Regions from separate parts of the Homo sapiens genome. Here region 1 is linked to region 2. The links are contacts of gene promoters, found by promoter capture Hi-C in blood cells and fetal thymus (Javierre and others, 2016). All regions are on one chromosome and are shown on one strand. Each heading gives the region's core, a stretch centred on a gene start or on the middle of the fragment in contact. The rest is flanking DNA. Distances are from core to core; before and after follow the strand shown. Region 1 holds the start of KLK14 (kallikrein related peptidase 14). Region 2 holds the start of SIGLEC9 (sialic acid binding Ig like lectin 9).

Evidence for each region. The method cuts DNA at HindIII sites, captures the fragments that hold promoters and counts their contacts. A CHiCAGO score of 5 or more calls a contact.
Region 1: the fragment with the promoter of KLK14 here is called in contact with the fragment with the promoter of SIGLEC9 in region 2 in 11 of 17 cell types (naive CD8 T cells, fetal thymus, non-activated CD4 T cells and 8 more); the score reaches 16.7 in naive CD8 T cells.

Annotation. Positions count from the first base shown.
Region 1 is chr19:51,077,931-51,084,153 of GRCh38, forward strand. It overlaps KLK14 (kallikrein related peptidase 14), which reads right to left and starts at 4,957. Exons shown (of 6, transcript NM_001369775.2): 1 at 4,792-4,957; 2 at 4,645-4,706; 3 at 3,602-3,773; 4 at 1,519-1,772; 5 at 885-1,021; 6 at 1-229. The coding sequence starts at 4,684. The coding sequence ends at 77. The HindIII fragment of the contact is 24,105 bases long and covers 3,304-6,223 here.
Region 2 is chr19:51,122,872-51,129,590 of GRCh38, forward strand. It overlaps SIGLEC9 (sialic acid binding Ig like lectin 9), which reads left to right and starts at 2,035. Exons shown (of 7, transcript NM_014441.3): 1 at 2,035-2,524; 2 at 2,726-3,004; 3 at 3,210-3,257; 4 at 4,159-4,425; 5 at 5,078-5,168; 6 at 5,543-5,639. The coding sequence starts at 2,104. RefSeq lists an enhancer at 6,056-6,105. The HindIII fragment of the contact is 17,590 bases long and covers 1-6,719 here.

The DNA of each region.
Region 1 (6,223 bases), core at 3,707-6,206, 42 kb before region 2:
GGCCTGGACTCCTGGGTCCTGAGTAGAGAGAGGAGGGCCTGGGCAGCTGACGAGGTCCATCCCACCGTGAAGACCATCATTTGTCCCGCATCGTTTCCTCAATCCAGCTTCTGTACTTGCACAGGTTGGTGTAGACACCGGGGTAGCCAGGCAGGGCGCAGCGCTCCATTCCCCAAGACACGAGGCCCTGGAGCTGTCCTCTGCACACCAGGGGTCCCCCAGAGTCACCCTGAGGGGGAGGAACAGAAATGGAGACACTGATGGACAGGTAGCCAGAGCCACCATGGCACAGAGAACCCGAGAAGCAGACACAGGGAGACAGGCAGAGACACTGGTGGACAGTTAGGGACACAGTCCTGCCCCAGCTCTGAGGTCTCAGCCCCGGAGGTCGGGGCACTTCCTTCCCTCTCCGCTGGGTCTGGCTCTGTCTCTGTGTGCACCTGCCTGTCCCTTGAATCTCACCAGGCCCCTCTCTGTTCGCTCCAACTGTAGAACATTTGTGTGTCTCTCTTTTTCTATTTCCCCATCTCTGCCTCCCTCAAGGATGCATTAAGATTTCTAGAAGCCTCAGCACAGCCTTTCCCAGACCCATATGAGCAGAGGCCACTCTGCGATCTTTCCCCAACCTGCCTCATCCCATTCCACCAACTACCCTAAGAGGGTTACTCCCACCTGACAGATGAGGAAACTGAGGCATGAATGCTCTGAGTCCATTACCCAGGGGGCACAGGGCTAGGAAGCAGGGTGGCCTGGCTATCGGAATCTCTCTGTGCCTGCGGTTCACTCTCTTCTGAAGACCTCTGCAGACTTCCATGCTCCTGACATCATTTGCTTAAATCCCAGTCCCAAATAATCCCTACCACAGCTCCCATCCTGGGCCTTACCTGACAAGAGTCCTTCCCGCCCTGGGGAACTCCTGCACAGACCATGCCAGGCGTGATGGTTCTAGGATAGGCCTTCTGGCACACCTCATCCGGGGAGATGTTGATGTTCACGCATTGCAGAGAGGCGGGGTACCTGGCTGGGGGACACTGCAGGGTTATAACTGGGTCTACCCTCCCATAAGACCCAAGGGTCCAGGCCCCCAGCCCCTCCTCCTTCCGACCCAGGAGTCCAGCCCCAGCACCTCCTCCCTCAGACCCAGGAGTCCAGGCCCCCAGCCCCTCCTCCCTCAGACCCAGGAGTCCAGACCCCCAGTCCCTCCTCCCTCAGACCCGGGAGTCCAGGTCCCCAGCCCCTCCTCCCTCAGACCCAGAAGTCCAGGCCCAGCCCCTCCTCCTTGAGACCCAGGAGTCCAGGCTCCAGCCCCTCCTCCCTCAGACGTATGAGTCCAGGCCCAGCTCCTCCTCCTTGAGACCCAGGAGTCCAGGCCTCAGCCCCCTCCTCCCTCAGACCCAGGAGTCCAGGCCCAGCCCCTCCTCCCTCAGACCCAGGAGCCCCAGTCCCCCCAGCTCCACCTCCTGGAGACCCAGGAGCCCAGGCCCAGTCCCCTGCTTTCCAAGACGCAGGAGTCCTCACCGATGGGGCTGGATATAGTTCCCCAGCCTGACACTCGGCAGGAGGTCCCGGGGCTGGCACAGGCCTGGGTGACCTCAATGGGCCTGACTGCCCTCCCGATCCGTGCGGGCTGCTGTAGCTGCAGCAGCATGAGGTCGTTGTCGTGGGTCCGGGAGTTGTAGTTGGGGTGCGTCACCTGACGAACCACGCGCAGCACCTGCTGGGTGGCCTCCCACCTCCTCAGGTTGTGCTTGCCCAGGGCAACCTGAAGGATCCTGGCCACGACCCCCAAGAGAAGCGCTGCTCAGGGTCTGAGCCAGAGACTCCTCCCCACCCTCCAGCCCGGTTCCCTGGCCGGGTGACGAGTCTTCCCCGAGGTCTAGCCTGCTTCTCACTAACTGCAGGCCGAGCATTCTTGGCCTCCTGTGCCCTTCCCCATGGCCAGGGCATTCTCTCGGCCCAGCCCCAGCTGCCTCTCCTTCCGCTCTTGGGCTGGGCTCCAGCTCCTGGCTTGGGAAGAAGGTGATGATTGGGAGAGCTTGGCTCCGTGCCAGGGTCTGTGCTGGGCTCGGTGCATTGAGTCCTAAGCGAAACTGCGTTATGAGTCTAGGCTCTAAATCGGAACTGATATTCCGGAGTAGGCACCATTCTGTTTCTAGCCTGGGTTCTGAGTTCTAGACATCTTAAACTTTTGACTCTATGCTAAGATCAGGATTCTAGATCGAACCTGGATTATGACTTGATTTATTTATTTATTTTTTTTTTGTGATGGAGTCTCGCTCTGTCACCTAGGCTGGAGTGCAGTGGCACGATCTCAGCTCACTCTCGACCTCCAACTCCCAGTTCAAGTGATTCTCCCGCCTCAGCCTCCCAAAGTGCTGGGATTACAGGCGTGAGCCACCGCACCCAGCCTCTACAGGTCTGTTTCATATTGGATTATAGGGCTCTTGGTTCTGGACTCTGGCCCTAGCCCTTGACCTCAGGTTGGGCTCTGGGTTCTAGTTGGAGCTCTAGGTTATGGCCCGGATCCAAGATTCTAGAGTCTGGTTTGCATTCTGGCCTTTATATTCTAGACTCTGGCCTGAGCTTTGATCTCTAGGTTCTAGACTGACCTGTTTATGGCATAGATATGGCTTATAGGCATTTTGACCTCTTGGCTGGGGTCTGGGTTGTAAGTTCAGATCTAGAATTTAGGAGGGGTCTAGGTTTTATATGGGGCTTCTGATTAGGATCTGCATTCTGGGATTTATTGATTGATTGATTGATATGGAGTTTCGCTCTTGTTGCCTAGCCTGGAGTGCAATGGTGCGATCTTGACTCACTGCAACCTCCGCCTCCCAGGTTCAAGTGATTCTCCTGCCTCAGCCTCCCGAGTGGCTGGGATTACAGGCATGTGCCACCATGCCTGGCTAATTTTGCATTTTTAGTAGAGACAGGGTTTCTCTATGTTGCTCAGGCTGGTCTCGAACTCCTGACCTCAGGTGATCTGCCTGCCTCAGCATCCCAAAGTGCTAGGATTATAGGCATGAGCCACCGCACCCGCCACATTCTGGGATTCAAACACTGGGTTGAAGTCTGCTCATAGCGGAGCTATAGACTAGACTCTGAACTAAACCTTGGGTGTGAAACAGCCTCCAGGTTTTGCCTCTATTCTTAGAGTTGTATGTTCCAGCTGTGAGCAGCGTTCTAGTTCTGGATTTATGGCTAGACTGCAGGTCCTGAACTGGGCTCTGAGTTCTACGTAGTGTCCTGAGTTTCTGAATGTAGACGGGGTCCTGAATTCAGCCACCAATCTGGAATGGGCTAAGCTTGGTCTCGATGTAATGTGTGGCCTCTGGAAGAATCACTGGATCAGATGTTCGGTTCTCAGCAGGTCCATGGGTTCCAAGCTGCCCATCTGCTTTCAGAACCTATGCTGAGTTCGAGATTTATGGAGGAGCCCACATCCCGAGCTGTGTTTTTGTTCCAGGCTCTTCTCTAGACCTCAAACCAGGAGCCAGCCACTACATTGGGTTCTATACAGAGATCCAGGTTCTCAGCTCAGCTCTAGGGCTTTAGACTCTGGAATTCACTAGGTACAGGGACAGGGGAGGGGGTCACTTACGGGCGGCCGCAGTGAGCAGCAGTGATGACCCACTGGCCTGAAAGCAGGGCGCCTCCGCAGAGGAAGCGGCGCCTGGGACCCGCCAGCAGGGCCGCCTGCCACGGCTGGGAGCTCCGGGTGCACGTATGGCCACCAATTATCTTGTTCTCATCCTCTTGGCTCTGTGTCATGGCTAGGAGTGGACAGGATTGGGTGGGGAAAGTAGATGAGCAAACACTCTCCACTCCACAAGTTTGTAGGATTCCAAAACTGACAAATCCCCTTCCTTTTGGTCTAACCCCTAAACTGCCCGCCTCTATCTGTCCCACCCAGGGTGAGACATGCCCAATATTGACCCCGTTATTGCCCCAGCACGGAGAGCTTTCTGACTCACCTCCCAAGTCACCTCCGTAGCATCTCTTATTTTGTGCCGTGGCCACCTTATCCAGGGCCTTGCTACATCTACGACCCTTAGCTCTATGCTCCCATAATTTCTGTGATCACTTCTCGAAATATGCCACATTTCCCCCCAATGAGTCCTTCCCCAACACATTCAAGGACCTCCCTGTCTCCTCCCCAACGTTCCCACTCAGTGGGACCCCAAGGATCCGCCATCTCTTGCCCCACACTTGCCCCCATCCACCTCACACACCCATGCCACGATCCCGCCACCCCATGCCACGATCCCGCCATCCCATCATCCTTCTCCACCTTCCCTCTGACAACAAAACATCTTTCTGACATTGTTTCTTTCCTAACACAGTCAGGTAGAGCCCCGTGATCTTTCTGCTATGACCCACTCAGGACCTAATAGTTCCCTAAGATTCCTTATGTATTTTGCACCAGACCTTATAAACACCTCTCTCCCCGGCCCCACAATTCCCTAGCACCTCCACAACTAGGAATTTAGGCCTCCAGCACGTTCCCCCACCATGACCCCCAAACCACTCCCTGCTCTTTCTTATGAGGTCACCATGAGCATCCAGGGGCCCCAAGGACCCATCCCCATCTCTTCTCAGAGTCTCCAGGGGACCCCCTTGTGTCATACCCAACCGTTCTCTTACCTATAGCCAGGACTTGAAGTGCTGTCAGCAGGAGGAACATTTTAGGGGCTGAGGGCCAGGTCCTGTCAAATGCAGAGAAAAAGTGAGAGAGAAGGAACCTTCAACAGAACCGGGGGCTGAGAGGCAGAGACAGCAAGGGGCACTTACCCAGAGCCCAAGACCCTCAGGGACATGAAGACACAGCAGAGAGGTAGGGACCAGAGACGAGGGGGGCGGGGCCTGCAGGCTCTGCGGGCGGCAGGTGGGAGGATGTGGAGCAGGGCACAGGTCCCTCCTTGATGTCTTGATGAAGGAAGGAGGGGAGGTGTCTCTCTTCCTAGTCACACTGGCAAAGCCTTTTATCCCTGGTAAGGACAGCTGGCCCTGCCCCCACCTCCCGCCGCCCTGCTTCTGACATTTTTTTTTTTTTATTGCCTAGTTCCCATTCCAGGACTCCCTGATCCCATCCCCTCCCTCCCCTGTCTGGCCAAAAAAGCAGCCACAATTGTTCATGAGAACCCGCCCAGGGAAGATGCTATAATCTAGAAGGAATCCTGGGAGGGGACCCCAGGGCAGGGTGGGCAGGGGAGGGTTCCCAGTTGCTGGAGGTGGTGGATCTAGTGGTGGAGTCAGGAAACCAGGGTGGGGAGTGTCAGAGGAAAGGGCACGAAGGGGCTGAGAGAGGGAGGAAGAGATGGACTGAGAGAGGGAGTCACGGGAGGAGGGAGAGAGGGAGAGAGAGAGAGAGAGAGAGAGAGACAGAGAGAGATGGAGAGAGAGAAAGACAGAGAGACACACAGACAGAGAGAGACAGAGACAGGGTGACGGGGGGGAGAGAGAGAGAGAGATGGAGAGAGAGACAGAGAGAGAGCCAGACAGAGAGACACAGAGAGAGAGAGAGAAAGAGAGAGACAGAGACAGAGTGACAGAGAGGGGGAGAGCAAGAGACAGAGAGAGACTGGGAAAATGAATGAGAAGATATGACAGTGGAGAGAGAGGAGTCCAGGAATACGAGCACAGAGGCAGGTGTGCTCATGAGAGAAGGAACTGAGGAGAGAGCTGGAGAAACCGGTGGAAGTTGGATGTGACAGGGAACAGAAGAGGCAGACGGTGGGAAAAAAACAAGACAGAGGAAGAGGGAGACACAGAGACGCAGGGAGAGAGGGGTGTGGAGAAGTGGAGATAGAAAAGCAAAAGACGGAGGGAAGAAGGTGGAGATAGAATGGAAACAGACACACAGAAAGAGAAAACAGTGGAGAGAGAGGAGAGAGGCCGAGACGCCCCCACCATGCGGCACTCACCACAAACACACACAGAACAACAGCGATGATGATGAAGGCAGTGCGGGCATGAGACGTGGAAGAGAACGGGACATGGTGGGAGAAAGAGGATGGGACAGGCAGGCCGATGGCAGAGGGGAGACGGGAAGGATGGGCACCTACAGGGGATGGGGACAATGACAGAGGAGACGGAGGCCTAGATGAGAGATGGCAGCGCCAGGGAGAGATGGAGAGGAGGGGTGGGATAGAGGACGGGCAGGAGGTGGGCGGGAGATACCTGGACCTGGAGCAGAGCTGCCCACCTTGCTTTCTCACTTTCG
Region 2 (6,719 bases), core at 785-3,284:
CTGCCTCAGATAGGGGCTGGGACGGAGGAGCATTGACCTGTTGGGCTCACCACCCACTGCGATTTCAGCACATTTCCCTGAGCCTCTGTGCAGAGTGAGTTGCAGGACAGCTGCTGAGGCAGGCAGCCTAGTCGGGTGTTTGGGCTGTCAGAGGGGTGGAGGCCTGGGAACAGAATCTCACACGCTTCTACCCTTTCCCAGGAAGCCCCTCTGGCTACAGATGTGTGAGTGAAAAGCAGGAGGGCTTCTGGCCCCTGGTTCTCACCTGATCAGGGGGCCATCCTGGGCACTGGCTTCCCCCCAACCCCCATGGCCTCACCTGGAGCTACTACTCCAGGTGAGCAGGCCTGCTCTTTTCTAGGGAAGCCGAAGGATTGTTCCCCGAGTTCCAGGTGGGGCTGAGCTGTCCTGTCCCGCCTGAGTTAGAATTGAAGTGGCCGATGCTAATCTGAGGCCCGTGTTGGCTCTGCAGGTGTGGAGGGCCCCAGGGGAGCAGTGCTGAGAGGCCTGACTGAGCCCCTCCTGCTCAAGACAGAACTCAGATGTGGACACCCAGCCCTGCAGAACAGATGCAGGACAACACTGTCAGCCATGGCTCAGCCCTTCTGACCATTGCAGTTGAGATGCTGCAACTTCCCAGGGAGCGACTGGGCAAACATGGGGGCCTGAGGTATTCACGGCAACGTGCACAGATGATAAAACTACCTAGAAAAGCATGGAGACCATTAGCGTTAAAGTGAGGCTGGGGCTGCTTCAGGAGGAAGTGGGGTGTGGCTGACAGGAAGTGGGGTAACAAAGAGGAGGTGTTGCGGCATCCCCAGTGTTCTGTTTCTCTAAGCATGTTCATATGTGTAAACCGCTGAGATTTTTTCTTGGGGGGAAGACATTTTTATCTATATGGCTTATATTTCTCCCAAAAATATTTCTAGAAAACTGACATCGGTCTAAGGAGGCTCCACCACACAGGATACTCCCAGTTCCTCCCAGCCCAGCCACACAGTTACAAAAAATCTTCTGCTGAATTCAGGTGCATGTTTCTTCTCCCATGAAATCCTGCCCATCGCGGAGGGTGCATGCCCCGGGGCTGGTGTCCTCACTCCACATCTCCTGTTCACCGGGACCCCTGGGAGCAGAGCTTGCAGAAGCAAAGCCCCAGGGCCAGCTGATCCCTCATGTTCTGGAGTAACCAGGGAAGTGTGGCTGAGCGAGACATCGGTGGTGAAGAAACCCTTCGTGGTGCAGTGAGGAAAGGAGAAATATCTTCCCTTTTGAAATCTGCCCCTTTTCTTCCGAATTTCCTCCCTTCCAAGCCCCACAGTACAACAGTCACAGCCTCAGTTTCCCAGACCTCCTGCGAGCCAGGCTCCCCTCTGTGTCCTTGGCGTGTATCAACACATAGAATCCTCACCTCCACAGCCCCATGTCCCTCTGCTCAGTCCTCCTGAGATTGAACCCCTGACCTACGGGAGAGTGACCCCATCCTGCCTGTGCCCCCCAACTGAAGCTCCTGCCGTGGACAGCTCAGACGTCAGGAGCCTCCATGTCTCCCCTCCGCACAGTGACCCCTTGGGGACAGTGTCCAGCTCTGCTGTGTTGACCTCGTTGTGCAGAAAGGGGGTGCCCACCTCGTGCTTGCTTGGGGGGGATGAGAGGCTGCCTGCTCACCCCACCTGCACCCCCATCTCTCATGGCCCCAAGTCCCACCTCTGAGCTACGCAGATATCCACAGCCTCTGACTCAGGGGTCTGGCCAGATGGGACTCATTTTCACCCTGCAGAAAATGTCACCTAAGGGGAAGGGCATTGAGAGGGAGGCAGGAGGTGGGGTGGGCCCTGCATGGGGTGGGAATCTGGGTGAGTCTGTCTCCCGCTCTGGCCTCAGGGACCCAGGAGTGAACATGGGGTGGTGGACGGTGGATCTCCCAGGGCTGACCCGGGCCTGACAGTGTCTGGGTGTAAAGTTCCTCCTCTGAGGAGGTCACTGTTCCGACCTCGCCCCTGTCTTCCTGTAGGGCCTCCTCTAAGTCTTGAGCCCGCAGTTCCTGAGAGAAGAACCCTGAGGAACAGACGTTCCCTCGCGGCCCTGGCACCTCTAACCCCAGACATGCTGCTGCTGCTGCTGCCCCTGCTCTGGGGGAGGGAGAGGGCGGAAGGACAGACAAGTAAACTGCTGACGATGCAGAGTTCCGTGACGGTGCAGGAAGGCCTGTGTGTCCATGTGCCCTGCTCCTTCTCCTACCCCTCGCATGGCTGGATTTACCCTGGCCCAGTAGTTCATGGCTACTGGTTCCGGGAAGGGGCCAATACAGACCAGGATGCTCCAGTGGCCACAAACAACCCAGCTCGGGCAGTGTGGGAGGAGACTCGGGACCGATTCCACCTCCTTGGGGACCCACATACCAAGAATTGCACCCTGAGCATCAGAGATGCCAGAAGAAGTGATGCGGGGAGATACTTCTTTCGTATGGAGAAAGGAAGTATAAAATGGAATTATAAACATCACCGGCTCTCTGTGAATGTGACAGGTAAGGCACAGGCTCCAGGAAAGGCCACAGGGAAAGGTCATGGGGGCGGCAGGGAAAGGCTGGGATGGAGCCCCTGCCCCAGGAGAGGGCTTAGGGTGAAGCGAGTTGGCTCAGGGCAGGAGCTGGACCAGAGCCTGAGCTCCCCCCAGGGCTGCACCATGGATCCTCTGACCTGATCCTGAGTCCCCCTCTCTTCACCAGCCTTGACCCACAGGCCCAACATCCTCATCCCAGGCACCCTGGAGTCCGGCTGCCCCCAGAATCTGACCTGCTCTGTGCCCTGGGCCTGTGAGCAGGGGACACCCCCTATGATCTCCTGGATAGGGACCTCCGTGTCCCCCCTGGACCCCTCCACCACCCGCTCCTCGGTGCTCACCCTCATCCCACAGCCCCAGGACCATGGCACCAGCCTCACCTGTCAGGTGACCTTCCCTGGGGCCAGCGTGACCACGAACAAGACCGTCCATCTCAACGTGTCCTGTGAGTGCTGGGCCGGGACGCCTGGGTCCCTGATGGGGTGAGCGTCAAGCCTGGACACTGGGTGCTGGGTCCCGGAATCTGGGCTGGTGGTGGGGTCAGGAGGACACTGGCTCTGCCTTCCCTGTTTATGCGGCTCCTGGGGACAGACAGGGCCAGTGTCCCCAGCCCTCACAGTGATGCGGGTCTCCATGTCTTTCTGTCCCAGACCCGCCTCAGAACTTGACCATGACTGTCTTCCAAGGAGACGGCACAGGTAGGATGGAGCTCCCTCCCTGGGGCTGGAGGAGCAGGGCCTTCAGGTCAGGATGGGGCTGGCTTATTCCTCAACCTGGACTCACTTTGGCAAACAGGGATGTCCTTGTGGGTGAACTCAGGGCCCCTCTGTATCCTTAGGCCCCAAGGCCACTTGTTCCCATCCTCCCATCACCTCCCTTGGACTCCCCCACACACCCCCCCCTCAGCCTCAAACAAGAAGAGGGTGGCATTCACACAGCAGGACCAGGCTTTGAGGCTCCTTCTCATGTATCTCCTGAATACATCTCCACCCTTATCTGTTTATTTCTGATAGTTCTGATCTAAGTACTTCTGGACAGGTGATAAATGTCCATGGGCAAAAATTCAAATTGCAGAGCAAAGGCTCTCCTCCGATGCCTGCCCCCCTCCCCAGAACCAACCACTGTCCATCCAGGCTGCCCTGAGTCTCGGTTTGTACACCTGGAGGATCTCAGAGGTGGTTTGACGTCCGTAGTGAGACTGTCCGCACCCTCCTCTAGGGCTGTGTGTGAGTCCACTGCATGGATGGACTCTGATTTTGTGGCATCTCCTAATGGAAGATCACGGCACTAATTTCATCCTACGGCAGGATAGAACAATCTTGTATCTACTTCCACAGGAATATCTAAGCCTGTGGGTTAAGTTCCTAAAAGCAAAATGTAGCTACATTATATGTTCTTTCTTATTTTGAAAGATAAGCCCAAACTGTTCTCGATGAAGCGGGGAGAAGTTTACATTCCCAGCAGTGAGTGGTGAAAGTGTGTGTTTCCAGAACTTCAGTCTATGTCTGTGTGTCAGTTGCTGTCATCAGTCTCTTTCTGTATCCTTCCTTTTTCTCCAGATCTATGTATCTCTCTGACCCTCTGTCTCTTTTTCTACAGTATCCACAGTCTTGGGAAATGGCTCATCTCTGTCACTCCCAGAGGGCCAGTCTCTGCGCCTGGTCTGTGCAGTTGATGCAGTTGACAGCAATCCCCCTGCCAGGCTGAGCCTGAGCTGGAGAGGCCTGACCCTGTGCCCCTCACAGCCCTCAAACCCGGGGGTGCTGGAGCTGCCTTGGGTGCACCTGAGGGATGCAGCTGAATTCACCTGCAGAGCTCAGAACCCTCTCGGCTCTCAGCAGGTCTACCTGAACGTCTCCCTGCAGAGTGAGTGCACCAGTATGCTGGGGAGGGGCTGGAGAGGAGAACACACCTCCTCCACCCTTAGTAACTGCTGAGCGTGGACCTTCAGAGAGGAGCTCCGCTCTGGTCTGTGCTCAGCTGTGAGGTCTGGAACTTCCCTGGGACCCACAGCACCACTGTCCTCTTCCTGCCAGGGAAGGGTTGTGGGGTGGGGAGAGGGCAGGAGTGGATCTCAGAGGGGACAGGATGGGGCCGGACAGGTGTGTTTAGGGAGACAAGCGCCTTTCTTTGCAGGGCTGAACTGGAGTCACACAACTGAGATACTTGCTTTGAGCATCAAATTAAAAAAAAGAAAAAGCCCAGCAAGTCAGCAATCAAATGAAATCATATTGCAATGCAATAATCTTTTAAAAAAAGTAAAAATTGAATGCAAAACAAATTCATTAATGGATAAAATATTAAAATTGTGAAAAAAAACCCCAAAAGGAATGGCTGGCACTTGCACGCCTCACTGGCCTCAGGAAGAGTCTCTCCATGTCCTGCTCTCTCTCATTCCTGTTCTTTGTGTCTGGAAAGGGGAAGTGGAAATAGAAGTCTAGGACCCTACAGGAAGTGGGAGGAGAAGAGACCCAATTCTCTATGATATATCACAAAAATAACTCCCATCTGTCAACAGGCAAAGCCACATCAGGAGTGACTCAGGGGGTGGTCGGGGGAGCTGGAGCCACAGCCCTGGTCTTCCTGTCCTTCTGCGTCATCTTCGTTGTGTAAGCATGGACCCTAGAGAGGGAGGGAGGGAGAGCCCTGGGGGAGGACAGGCTGGAAGCTGGATCCCTGAAGCCAGAGCTGGAGGGACCTGGATGGGTCAAGAGCTTGGGGCAAGAAGGAGGTCACAGGTGCATGGTGAGAATTCCATGTGGGCCTGTGTTTGAGGAGCTTTGAGTCTGTGGCAAACCTTGGTACCCACTGTCCAGGAGAAGAGAGCCTCTGTTCTCAACCTTGGGGTCTCTAAGACTGGACCACTGCTTTCCCACCTCAGTCACCCCTGCAGTCCCTTAATAGGAAACACATGGGGGTACCTGGTCTGCCCACCGCACCCCAATCTGACCACACTGAAAGGCTCTCTGGTCTCTTCACTCAGAGTGAGGTCCTGCAGGAAGAAATCGGCAAGGCCAGCAGCGGGCGTGGGAGATACGGGCATAGAGGATGCAAACGCTGTCAGGGGTTCAGCCTCTCAGGTGAGTGATGTGGACTCTCCACAGCCAGCATGTAGCCTGGACACCTCCCACAGGATGACCCCCAGGACTAATCAGCTGGGCGTAGCCAAAGTTACCTCCTCTCTGTTCTTCCTTTCTTCTCTGTAGCCCCAAATCACAATGTTTGGTTGGTTTCCTCCCCTAAGAACAGCTTTTATTGTCTCTGCTCCCTATCCTGACCCTTCATTGCTGAGGCCTGAGGATCTCTGTCTTTTGTTCCCTCACCTGTCTGCCTGTCTCCTCTCCTTTCCTGCCTGGGGGGACTGTCCAGAAGACATCATCGTCCAGTTCCTCTGCATTTGAACAGCTGTTCCCCCACCCCTCAATACCGTTTAGAGCAGAAGCCAGCAAATACTATCTGTCAGGGACAGATAGAAACTATTTTCGGCTTCATGGGCCACACAGTCTCATTGCAGCTCCTCAAATCTGCTGTTGTAGCAAGAAAGAAGCCATATACCCTGTGTAAACAAATGAATATGGCTGTGTGCCAATAAAACTATTCACAAACATAAAGAGTGGGCTGGATATGACTCAGATACTGTAGTTTGACAACCCCTGATCTAGAGTAAAAATCCCAAACTCTATAGCCTGCAGCAGTGCACATTCTGACTTTTTTTGTTTTTTTTTTTTTTTGTTGTTGTTGTTTTTGAGACAGAGTCTTGCTCTGTCGCCCAGGCTGGAGTGCAGTGGTGCGATCTCTGCTCACTGCAACTTCCACCTTCCGGGTTCAAGCCATTCTCCTGCCTCAGCCTCCGGAGTAGCTGGGACTACAGGCGCCTGCCACCACGCCCAGCTAATTTTTTTGTATTTTTAGTAGAGACGGGGTTTCACTGTGTTAGCCAGGATGGTCTCAGTCTCCTGACCTTGTGATCTGCCCACCTTGGCTTCCCGAAGTGCTGGGATTACAGGCGTGAGCCACTGTGACCGGCCACATTCTGACCTTTTAAGCACCTACCTCTCCACTAGGGCAAGAACAAGGGTGAAGTGAGTGAGGCTGTTGCCTCAAGTGCATTTTTTCGTTTGTTTGTTTTTGTTTTTTGAGATGGAGTCTCGCTCTGTCAC